3 separate regions of the Homo sapiens genome follow, and regions 1 and 3 are each linked to region 2. The links are contacts of gene promoters, found by promoter capture Hi-C in blood cells and fetal thymus (Javierre and others, 2016). All regions are on one chromosome and are shown on one strand. The core of a region is centred on a gene start or on the middle of the fragment in contact, and the rest is flanking DNA. Distances in the headings are between cores, read along the strand shown. Region 1 holds the start of LINC00665 (long intergenic non-protein coding RNA 665). Region 2 overlaps ZNF383 (zinc finger protein 383). Region 3 holds the start of ZNF529 (zinc finger protein 529).

Evidence for each region. The method cuts DNA at HindIII sites, captures the fragments that hold promoters and counts their contacts. A CHiCAGO score of 5 or more calls a contact.
Region 1: the fragment with the promoter of LINC00665 here is called in contact with a fragment that was not itself captured in region 2 in 15 of 17 cell types (total CD4 T cells, naive CD8 T cells, total B cells and 12 more); the score reaches 25.3 in total CD4 T cells.
Region 3: a contact is called between the fragment with the promoter of ZNF529 here and a fragment that was not itself captured in region 2, in 17 of 17 cell types (total CD4 T cells, naive CD8 T cells, activated CD4 T cells and 14 more). The highest score is 36.1, in total CD4 T cells.

What each region holds. Positions count from the first base shown.
Region 1 is chr19:36,329,309-36,333,001 of GRCh38, forward strand. LINC00665 (long intergenic non-protein coding RNA 665) reads right to left here and starts at 2,410. Exons shown (of 6, transcript NR_038279.1): 1 at 2,139-2,410; 2 at 945-1,184. The HindIII fragment of the contact is 13,687 bases long and covers 1-2,647 here.
Region 2 is chr19:37,236,373-37,240,273 of GRCh38, forward strand. The region is part of intron 5 of ZNF383 (zinc finger protein 383); the gene reads left to right. Among named protein-coding and RNA genes, the nearest start is that of LINC01535, 14 kb to the right of the region's middle. The HindIII fragment of the contact is 3,665 bases long and covers 1-3,151 here.
Region 3 is chr19:36,571,159-36,575,248 of GRCh38, forward strand. It overlaps ZNF529 (zinc finger protein 529), which reads right to left and starts at 2,134. Exons shown (of 5, transcript NM_020951.5): 1 at 1,982-2,134; 2 at 1,175-1,234. The coding sequence starts at 1,188. ZNF529-AS1 (ZNF529 antisense RNA 1) reads left to right here and starts at 2,191. Exons shown (of 5, transcript NR_173348.1): 1 at 2,191-2,397; 2 at 3,663-3,742. RefSeq lists an enhancer at 2,191-2,280. The HindIII fragment of the contact is 11,229 bases long and covers 1-4,090 here.

The sequences.
Region 1 (3,693 bases), core at 1,160-3,659, 910 kb before region 2:
ACAATCTAAATACAACCATCATGGTGCCAGAAATCCCAATCAGGCGAATGTTTTTTTACACTCATTCCCGTAACAACACCTGACTTGCTTCTGGCAGAAAAGACAGGACTGTGGTGGCCAGCCTAAATGATTGATGAGAAATTTAACCTCCTGTGACAAAAAATCAGCACTAAGGACCTTGCAGAAGTTCTTACCCAGACGTCTTGGGCAATATCGACGTCCTGACATGCAAAACCTTGACAACCACTAAACAAGACAATAGACACCGAACAGAACAATAAACATAAAACAAACAGTTGACCCTAGGGCATGTAAACAGTTATGACAGTTTCTTCTTTTTTTTTTTTTAGACAAACAAGGGGAGGGGGTCCCGTGATGGGATCAGTCAGATGCCCGCCTGGCCGCTCCCCCTTAGGGGACTTGGGCTCCTCTTAGCATTGACAGGCCGGTATAAACCCCCGGCTCGGATCGAGCTATGCCGGATGCTGCCTTAAGCCTTATGAGGTCGCCACGGAACCGCAGGTGAGGGCCCACTTGAACTCCGTAGCTTTCGCCGTGGAGCTACAAACTGGAGGACAAGCGCAAGCCCTTGTCCTCCCCCATTCATTCACCATTCACACAGAGTTTATAACAGTTTTTCTTTTTTCTTTCCCAGAGATTCTCCAAGAAACCTGAACAAGGAAAGATTAGAGATAGAAAAAGAGAGAGAGAGAGACCAGTCTGCCAGAAACCAGGACTCAGTCCCCCAGCATCCTGGGATGTGGACTGACTCAAGGGATGGCCCCTGTCAGGGCCACTTCCCTCCCAGACAGAGACACAGAGGCGTCTAACAGAAAACCAGGGCTCTACCCTCTAGCATCCTAGAGAAATGGGCAGAGTCAAAAGAGGGACACCCTCATCAGGGTCGCTTCCCTCTGCCAGAACCAAAGTCAAATCTGACCTACCTGACCCCGGGGTCAGCAGTTGAGGACTCAGAGGTGGAATTTTTGTGGGCACCCACATGGTAGTCGATCCGCTGTCCTCCGGAAGACGGTCACCCTTTGGGGACCTGGAAATTTTTTTTTCAGGTGGCACTCCCCCCTACAAGCTGGCTGTCCTTCCGGGGGAGCACACAGCGGGCCCGGCTCTCGCCCGGTGACGTTTCTCCCGGTGACGTTTCTCGCTGGGGCCTCCAAATGTCGTACCTGAGCGAGTTAGAGAAAACGCCACACTTTGAGACAAATTAAAAGTCCATTTATTTAGCTGGCCGCCAAGAGATGGCTAATGCTCAAAATTCTCTCCGCTCTGAAGAAGGGGCTAGATCTTCTTTTATACTTTGGTTTAGAAAGGGGAGGGGAGGTCTAGTTAAAACAATTTTACAGAAATAAAGTAAGCAAAAAAGTTAAAAGGATAAATGGTTACAGGAAAGTTAATAGTTCCAGGTGCAGGGGCTTTAAGATTATTACAAGGTGATAGACGCGGGGCTTTTGGGCATAATCAATCGGATGAATTCCTCGGAACTGCGGATATAGCTTGCCACAGTATCTTAACAGTTAATTGCATTCTTGGATGTGCTGGGAGTCAGCTTGCACAAGTTAAGTCCTTGAGGAAGGGGCTGCCAGTGAAAGAGCCAAGATGGAGTCCATCTGGCGCTCTTAGCTAAGGGAGAGTCAATTCAGGTGGAAACAAGGCTAGGTGATTTAAGGAAAGGGAGAGTCTAAAAACAGGGTTAGTAAAAACCAGGTTGGGCATTACACTACTAAGATATCAAAACCAGGAACTTACTTCCTTTAAAACAATTCCAAACTAACTCGCTGTGCCTTACACAGAAATTTCCCCCAAGAAATATGGTTTTATAAAGCCTGAGAAGTTGTTGCTATTAGGACAAACACCAAAACTAAAAATTGGTTTAATTAGCAACAACAAAATTCCATTTTAACTGGCTGTCCTTATCAGAGACAGTCCACTAAATAATACAACTGGCAAAAAGTGAGATTTTGTAAAGGTTGGGGTGCTTTATTATAAACATAACATAAACCAGGAATGTATTTTAATAAACCTCAACCTGCGGGTCACTCCCTCCCAGGCGTGCAACAAAACACCTGCCTAGAAATCAAAAGGCGTTTTACCCGAGTGGGCTGAAAAAGCCCCGTTTTTACCTTTAATCTGGAGACAATACGGGTCAGAGGTCAGGAAACTACATCAGCGCCAGTGCGAGCGCCCACGAGTCCGGTGGACGGATGAGAAACGGCCGGGGGGCAGCCTGAGTCCCAGTTCCCGCCGTGGCAATGGCCAATTTCCCACCCGTGGACGCAAAAGGCCAGGACTCCACGCTGCTGACCCTCCAGCGTCCCATGTCCGGCAGGCACGTGGCCGAATAGCCCAAGACTGAGGACTCACACTTCCCACTTTGCACCTGGAGGCCACCTGCAGACCAACCTTGCGCCAGGCTTCCGGAAATGGGAGGGCGGGCTTCCGGAAACGGCGGCCAATGGGAAACGTGATCAGATGTTACTAGGCAGACAGTCCGTTTCCAGGCAACACAGAAGAAAGGAACGCGCTCAGTCAGCCTCAAATAGACGGAGATTTCAGCCAATGGATGTGCAGGTTCCCTCCACATTAGCCAATAAGAAGTGCTTGGGGCCTACCTGCCTACAAGCACAGCAAAAGCTTTCCTGCGCATTTTTGCGCTGGAATGGCTACCTGCCGCGCCAAATCAAAATTTACAATCACCCTTGGTGCTGTTTCCTGCACTTTCTTGGAGATTTGCACCAGGCGCTGGAGACCCTCCCACCTGGCCCATGCCTGCCACCCGGTGAACACCAAGACCCAACCTTCTGCACCACCAGTCTTGTTGTCAGCGAACAGGCTAGTAAATTATTGAAGGGGTGGCCTGCCCCTCCACACCTGTGGGTATTTCTCGTCAGGTGGAACGAGAGACTGAGAAAAGAAAGAGACACAGAGACAAAGTATAGAGAAAGAAAAGTGAGCCCAAGGGACCGGCGCTCAGCACACGGAGGACCTACAGGGACACTGGTCTCTGAGTTCCCTCAGTATTTATTGATCATTATCTCTACCATCTCGGAGAGGGGGATGTGGCAGGCCAATAGGGTAATAGTGGGGAGAGGGTCAGCAGGAAAACGTGAACAAAGGTCTCTGTGTCATAAATAAGTTTAAGGAAAGGTGCTGTGCCTTGATGTGCACTTATACAAACATCTCGGTGCATTAAAGAGCAGTATTGCCGCCAGCGTGTCTCACCTCCAGCCCTAAGGATGTTTTCTCCTATCTCAGTAAGTAGAACATACAATCGGGTTTTACACCAAGACATTCTATTGCCCAGGGACGAGCAGGAGACAGATGCCTTCCTCTTACCTCAACTGCAAAGAGGCCTTCCTCTTTTACTAATCCTCCTCAGCACAGACCCTTTTCGGGTGTCGGGCTGGGGGATGTCGGGCTGGGGGACAGTCAGGTCTTACCCTTCCCATGAGGCCATATCTCAGGCTATCACATGGGGAGAAATCTTGGACAATACCTGGCTTTCCTAGACAGAGGTCCCTGCGGCCTTCCGCAGTGTATTGTGTCCCTGGGTACTTGAGATTAGAGAATGGTGATGACTTTTAACAAGCATATTATCTTCAAGCACTTTTTTAACAAAGCATAGCCCTAAATCCATTGAACCTTGAGTCAACACAGCACATGTCTCTGTGAGCACAG
Region 2 (3,901 bases), core at 69-2,568:
TTTTTTTACTCTCTCTCTTTTTTTTTCTTTTTTTTTAAAGGGTCTGGCTCTGTCACCCAGGCTAGAGTGCAGTGACATGATCATAACTTATTGTAGGCTCAAACTTCTGGGCTTAGGCAGTCTCCCTGCCTCAGCCTTCCAAGTGGCTGGGACCGTAGGCCTGTGCCACCATGCCTGGCTAATTCTTTTTCTTCTTCTGCATTTTTTTTTTTTTTTGAGACGGAGTCTCGCTCCGTCGCTCAGGCTGGAGTGCAGGGTGCGATCTTGGTTCACTGCAACCTCTGCCTCCCGGGTTCAGGCGATTCTTCTGCCTCAGCCTCCTGAGTAGCTGGGACTACAGGCGCATGCCACCATGCCCAGCTAATTTTTGTATTTTTAGTAGAGGTGGGGTTTCACCATATTGGCCAGGCTGTTCTTGAACTCCTGACCTCATGATCTACCCGCCTCAGCCTCCCAAAGTGCTGGGATTACAGGCATGAGCCACCGCGTCCGGCCCCTCTTCTGCATTTTTTAGACTTGTACAGGTGTTTTCTACTACCACTCCCCAAAATAATATAATTGCGTCTGTATACACACATGTGAACACACACACACACACACACACACACACACACACACACACAGAGACACACACACACACACCCCTTGCCCAAGTACTGGTCTTCATTATAGCTGCCTGTCAGTGACCTGTTTTATCAGACTGTCTTCAATGTTTCCTTTATGGAACGTTTTTTAATTTCCTGGTTTGTGTAAGGGAATCTTCCAGGTGCTACAGTTTACTAATTGTGTTACCTTTACAAATTCAAGGTCCAAAAGTGGTGCTAAAATATATACATATATGACTTCCACAAAGTAGAGTAGTATAAAAGAGAAATGAGATAAGGAGTTTAGCAGAAAGTCAAAGGCTAACTATGTAGAAGTGGAATTAATCCCTATTGAAGTAGTAGGTGGAGCCTTGGAAGTGACTGCAATCACTATGTATAGAGATATTGTTGGGGCCAAGAAAAAAAAAGGATCTGTGCCTATATTAAAAAGGAAGAGGTGGCAGAGCAGGAGAGATTTGGGATGAAGTAGGAGAACCAGAAGAGTACTTATTGAGCACTACTATGTACCAAGCATTGGTCCAAGGGCTGGGACTGTAGTATTCATGAAGGCATTCTAAAGTTCTGCACTTCTGAAGCCTACATTCTAGAGGGTAAGAGAGAAAATGTCTTAGTCCATTTTGTGCTGTTACAGCAGAATACCTCACATCGAGTAATTTATAAAGAACAGACATTTATTTTCTCATAGATCTGGAGGCTAAGAATTCTAAGATCAAGGCACTGTCATCTGATGAGGGCCTTCTTGCATCTTCGTGTGGCAGAAGGCAGTAGGGCAAGAGAGCCAACTCCTTCCATCAAGCCCCTTCGTAAGAGCACCGAAACCCATCCTTGAGGGATGGGTCCTTGAAGCCCGATCATCTCTTAAAGGCCTCACCTCTTCGTTTTTGGAATTTTTTTTTTTTTTTTGAGACAGGGTCTCACTCTGTCACCCAGGCTGGAGTGCAGCGGCACAATCATGGCTCACCACAGCCTCAACCTCCCGGGCTCAGGTGATCCTCCCACCTCAGCCTCCCGAGTAGCTCGGCCCACAGGCACACGTCACCACGCCCAGCTAATTTTTCTATTTTTTGTAGAGACAGGGTTTCGCCATGTTGCCCAGGCTGGTCTCTAACTCCTGGGTTCAAGCGATCCACCCACCTTGGCCTCCCAAAGTGCTAGGATTAAAGGCTTGAGCCACTGTGTCTGGCCCCCACCTCTTAATACTATCACATTGGCAACAGCTGAATTTTGAAGGAGAGACATTCAAACCATAGCAGAAGATAAACATGAATGTCAAGTATATATGTATAAAACAATATTAGCATGACATTAATATTATATGATATATAAATATTTTTAGAATTATATATCACTTACATTTATCTACATGTAACTAATATATTGGTATAGTATAAATATATATCATATATTAATAATATTTCTATATTATTATATGTCCATGTGTATATGAAATGTCAGGTGGTGGGTGATAGATAAGTGCTGTGAAGAGAGGCTAGAGAGGGCCTCTCTGATGAGGTGTTCTTTTAGTGAAGACTTGAAGGAAGTGAGGGAACAGGTAATGTAAATATCTGCTAGGAGAGATTCAGGCAAAGGGAACAGGAAGAGCCAAGTACTCGAGTTCAGAGCTTTTTGGCAGCCACCATTATGGCTGAAATTGAATGAGCAAAGCGGGAATTGTAGAAGAGGAGATCAGGAAAGTAGCAGGCTTATGAGTGTTTGCATGCTGGGTGCAGGTCAGGATGGGAGTTGGATGTACCTGTAGATGATTTTGGGTCTTGTGGACCTTGAATTTTACTCCGAATGAGGTGTAAATCCATTGAATGATTTAGCAGAGTGATATTATCATGTTTGCAAAGGATCATTCTTGCTCTAGGGGTTCCTAACTTTGGATTCCTTTAGGTAGAATTCAGGGAGTCCATGAACTTGGATGAGAAGAAAAAAATACATCTTTTTGGTTTTTTTTGAGACGGAGTCTCACTCTGTCACCCAGGCTTGAGTGCAGTGGTGTGATCTCAGCTCACTGTAGCCTCCACCCCGCAGGTTCAAGCGATTCTACTGCCTCAGCCTTCTGAGTAGCTGGGATTATAGGCGCCTGCCACTGCGCCCGGCTCATTTTTGTATTTTTAGTAGAGATGGGGTTTCACCATCTTTGCCAGGCTGGTCTTGAACTTGTGACCTCATGATCCACCTGCCTTGGTCTCCCAAAGTGCTGGGATTACAGGCATGAACCACTGTGCCCAGACCAAAAATACATCTTTATATTTAATAACCTCTAATTGAGATATAACATTTCTTCCTATCGTGATGTATGGGACAAACCATAGTAGCAGTAGTAGTAGTAGTAGTTACTGTGACTTTGACATTAATGGAAATCACAGATACGTTCATATTATTTTACTGTTATTGTAGGCATATTGAAATATTTATGCTCATCACTACTTCAGAATTAATGTAGTACTAGGCTTGCCACTAGGTCTTGTTTAATGTTTTACTAGAGAAGAAAACTCCAGGCAGAGAGAAGAACCCCTGTGAAGGTTCTGATGGGGAAAAGCTTGGTGTGTTTGAAGGACTAAATGCCAGTGTTGGTGGGCCCCATGATCAAGTGGGAGTGGAGTGTGAGTCAGGGTTTGGATAGACAGGCAGGAGCCACAGCATTCAGCCTTTGCAGGAGATTGTAAGGAGTTCGGACTTTGAGCAGTGGAAACCTAAGCCAAATGATACTATTCCCTGAATAGATTAAAGGGTGAGAGAGCTTGGTGGGGAGACTGGTTGAGGAGGCTACTTCACTGGTCTGGGTAAGAGTTGATTCTGGTTTGGAAGATGACATTGGCAGTGGAAGACAGAAGAGGGCAGTTTCAAAACTTTACTTGGGAGCTTAACTAGATGAAAGTTACTGCAAGATCTGCCGGGCGCAGTGGCTCACGCCTGTAATCCCAGCACTTTGGGAGGCCGAGGCGGGAGGATCATGAGGTCAGGAGATTGAGACCATCCTGGCCAACATGGTGAAACCCCATCTTTCCTAAAATACAAAAAAATTAGCCGGGCGTGGTGGTGCACGCCTGTAGTCCCAGCTACTTGGGAGACTGAGGCAGGGGAATCGCTTGAACCCTGGAGGTGTAGGTTGCAGTGAGCCGAGATCACACCACTGCACTCCAGCCTGGCAACAGAGTGACACTGCGTTTCAAAAAAAAAAAAAAAGTTATTGCAAGAGCATATAGAGATAGGAGGAGAAAGATTGTGTTGGAATGAATTCCCTGTTCCTGTTTTGAGATACTCCAATAGGCTTCATTTTGATATCT
Region 3 (4,090 bases), core at 884-3,383, 660 kb before region 2:
GTAGGACTATAATTCACCCTAAACACTGAAAATTTAGCATCCAAATTGAGACATGCAATAACAATAAAACATATACCAGATTTTGAAAACTTGGTATAAAGATATGAGTGTAAAGTATTTCAGTGTATTCATATCATTACATGTTGAAATAATATTTTGGATATATTGGTTTAAATAAAATACATTACCAAAATTAACTTCAGCTGTTTCTTTTTCTTTTTAAAATGTGTTTAAAGCCGGGCGCAGTGGCTCACGCCTGTAATCCCAGCACTTTGGGAGGATGAGGTGGGTGGATCACCTGAGGTCAGGAGTTCGATACCAGCCCAGCCAACATGATGAAACCCCTTCTCTACTAAAAATTCAAAAATTAGCCGGGCATGGTGGCGGGCGCCTGTAATCCCAGCTACTTGGGAGGCTGAGGCAGGAGACTCACTTGAACCTGGGAGGCAGAGGTTGCAGTGAACTGAGATCGCACCATTGCGCTCCAGCCTGGGCAATAACAGTGAAACTCTGTCTCAAAAAAAAAAAAAAAAGTGTCTAATGGAAATTTTTAAATTACCTAAGTGGCTTTATATTATATTTGCATTAGACTGTGCTGCTTTAGACTCAGACACCACTGTATCAGGCTGCCTCTCACAATCTACACCAATGTCACACTGCCAAATCTCAAAGAAGATTTGGTTGTCACCACTTAAATCCCCTCATGAATGTTCTGGAAAAACTCCCTGCCCTTGTTGACATAGCCTCTCTGCATAAAACTCCTATCATATTCCCACTCCTAAATGTCTCCAAAGCCAACTTTGTCACTTACTGATTAATACCTACCATCTCCTATCTTGCTTTGTTTGCAAATCAAGTCTGTAAATAAGATCAAAGGTATCTAGTGTGCCATTCTACTTAATCACTCGTCTCCTCCTTAACAAATTACATTCTAAAAAAAAGTTTTAACTTCTCCTCCAGGAGTTGTATTTCTATACCATAAAAATCCTTTGGAAAAAAAGAAGCACATGGGAGAATTGAATGATTTACCTAATGCATATGTGAATATTCAATGAAAGGGAAATGGGCATTTGGAAAGGCAATGGAGGACAAGGGGACCCATCTCTACGGTCCTGTTGTTAATTGGGAAGAGAAAACCAAGGGACCAGGTAAATGAACAAAAAAAAAAACTAACCTTGAGTTGGCCATTAGTACCAATGCTGTCTTCCACTTCAGGGGGCCTTCACTTGCAGAACTACATAACCAAGAGGGAGAAAGGACTCATGACATCCTGGACTGGTTAAATAAGAACACAGTGTTCACCACCAGAAAAGCCCATCACACACAACAAACACACCCAGATCGAAGAGGGAAACTAGAATACTGTCGACTCCTCCCCACATCCGAGAAAAAGGTACGACCAATGCCTAGCAGTTTCTAGGGAACACAGCTCAGGAAATACTGTAGTTCTTTAATGTATAAATGGCCTCCAAACTCATGCAAGGGGAGTTATCCCAGGAATGAATACTACACCTATGCCCTCCCCTTCACGTCTTCCCAGGAAACTTCATTTATCTATCTTATCTATCTATCTATCTATCTATCTATTATCTATCATTTATCTATCTTCTATATATCATCTATGTAATCTATCTATATGCGTGTGTGTGTGTGTATAAGACCTCACGAAGAGATTCCATCACAGACATCACAGAGTCGGAAAAATGACGCTTTACCCAAAACAAACTCCTACAGGCTCACGGAAAAAAACGAACAAACAAACAAACAAAAAAAAACAAAAAAACACTTCTACCCCGTTCACACTTATAGTTGGTCACAACAGTGCTGTCACACGATCACGTCACCGTAGACCAGGGTCACACGATAGACCCCGCCCCTACTCACCGTCCTGAGTCCGATCAAACAGCACCCACGGCACACACTAGGGTCTCCGTCTCTCACACACACACACCACAATGACGTCGTAAACAATAGCACTAACCACCATCGTCCGCAGCTCCCGCGTACAGAGGCCTCAGGCTCCCGGCTCCACGTGGACCGACCTCGCCCGGCAGCGCGGGGCCACCTCACCGCGAGCTCCTCCCGCAGCCCGGCCCGGGTCACCTCGACTCGCCAGGCTTAACTCAATAACCACAACACCGGAAAAGGAAGCAAAGGTCGAAGTTCATCCGCGGCCCTGAGGCCTGTGGGAAACGTAGTCCAACAACGAAAGAGCCCTGAAGCTCAAGCGGAGCCCGCTGGCCGCAGGGGCCGCACCACGCCCCAGACCCTGGAGTTTCCGGGTGCGCAGACCCTTGCCATCAGCAGAGGCTGCCGCTGCGCGTCCCCTAGGCGCGGAAGAGGCGGCTGGTGGTCCCTGACGGCAAGGTGAAGTCGAGGCAGTAATCGGGAACCCAGGTTGGGAGGACAGAATGGGGAACAGGAAGCTGGGGCGAGGGTGGTCTTGGGGGAGGTGGGGGGCCGCGGAATTCTAGGTGGCCCCTGCCTCACCTCTGGAAAGAACCGGAAGCCCGGGCCGGGGAGGGTGAAGGGAGTCGCGGACCCGGCTGCTCAGCCGAGGAGGAAACCCGGACCCCAGGCTGAGGGAGGCCGAAGAAGGAACTGGAGGGCCGGGCTGGGAAGGCCTGAAGCGGGTACAGCCTTTAGGCTGGGGAGGGTCGAGGGGAGAACTCGGAGCCTGAGTCGGGCGAGGTTTTGCTCCACTCTGGCTTCTAAGTGTGGGGGCCTCAGGATGTGACCCGTGGTCGTAAACCTGAGGGTGACTTGGAGTTTTTGTCCGTTTTGCACCATGAGAAAGGCCCCAGATGGAATCTGGCAGGTAGCGGCGGTTCAGTGTGTGTGTGTCTGCCTTAGGGCGTGTTTTACACTGTTGACGAAAAGACTCAGACTCTAAAGTATTTGAAGAGACTTATTCTGAGCTAAATATGAGTGACCAATGGCCGGTGGCCCAGCCCTCAGGAGATCTTGAGAACCTGTGCCCAGGGTGGACGGGATATATGTGGTTTTATACCTTTTAGGGAAACATGAGACACCAATCAAATACATGTAAAATGTACATTGATTCCCTCCGGAAAGGCGGGACAGCTGGAAGGTGGCTGGCCTTCCAGGTCATAGGTAGATTCAAAGATTATTTGATTGGCAATGGGTTGAAAGAGTTATTGACGTAAGACTTAGGAATGTCTCCAGGTAGCACGCTTCACAGAGAATAGATTGTAAATGTTTCTTTTCAGACTTGGGGTCTTTTCTATCAGTAATTCCAAAATGGAGGAGGGTATAATGAAGCATGTCCGACCCGCCCACCCCCGCCTTTCCATCATGGCTTTACTAGTTTTTCAGGTTAGGAATGCCCTGGCCAAGAGGAGGGGTCCATTCAAGATGGTCTGGGTGTGCTTAGGATTTTATTTTTGGTTTACAACACCAGCACCACCGGAGTTTGCTGGTGTCCTTTCCAGTCAGTTTCAAAGCAGAGACAGCCATAGTTCTGATTTGTGTCACTGTAACTGTCAGTTCCGGAATTCCATATTTCTCCTTTAGTTTACCCTAATGTGTGTGAGATTTCATGTGTAGTTCATTTTTCTTTTTCTGAACAGCACTCCATTGTGCAAATATACCACAATTTGTGTAGTCATTTTTCTGTTGTTGAACATTTGGCATATTTACAGGTTTTATACATTACGAATAAAGCTGGCACGTTTCCATTTCTCCTGGGCAAATATTTAGAAGAAAAGTTGCTGGGTAATTGGTAAGTTTACATTTAACTTTCCAAGAAGCTGATAAGCCTTTTAGAATGATTAGTTGTGATTTGTGTGTGTGAGATTGTGTAACTGGAGTAAGTAGTTTCTGAGTTTGCTTTGCTATGTTTGTATGGAATTATAAGATGGGCTCAACAGGGTTGTGAATGTCATGTAGGATCCATAGGATTGTGGCTTTGTGGAGTAGGTAAGATCACAGGAAACTGAATGTGTCTGTGCTAATTGTTATTTATCATGGTTTTGTGTGTACATTCCATGATAACTGAAAATGGATCACTATGTAAGTGATGTTAATGACTGAAGAACTCTGTGTGTCTGGTGTATTTCATTTTGCTTGC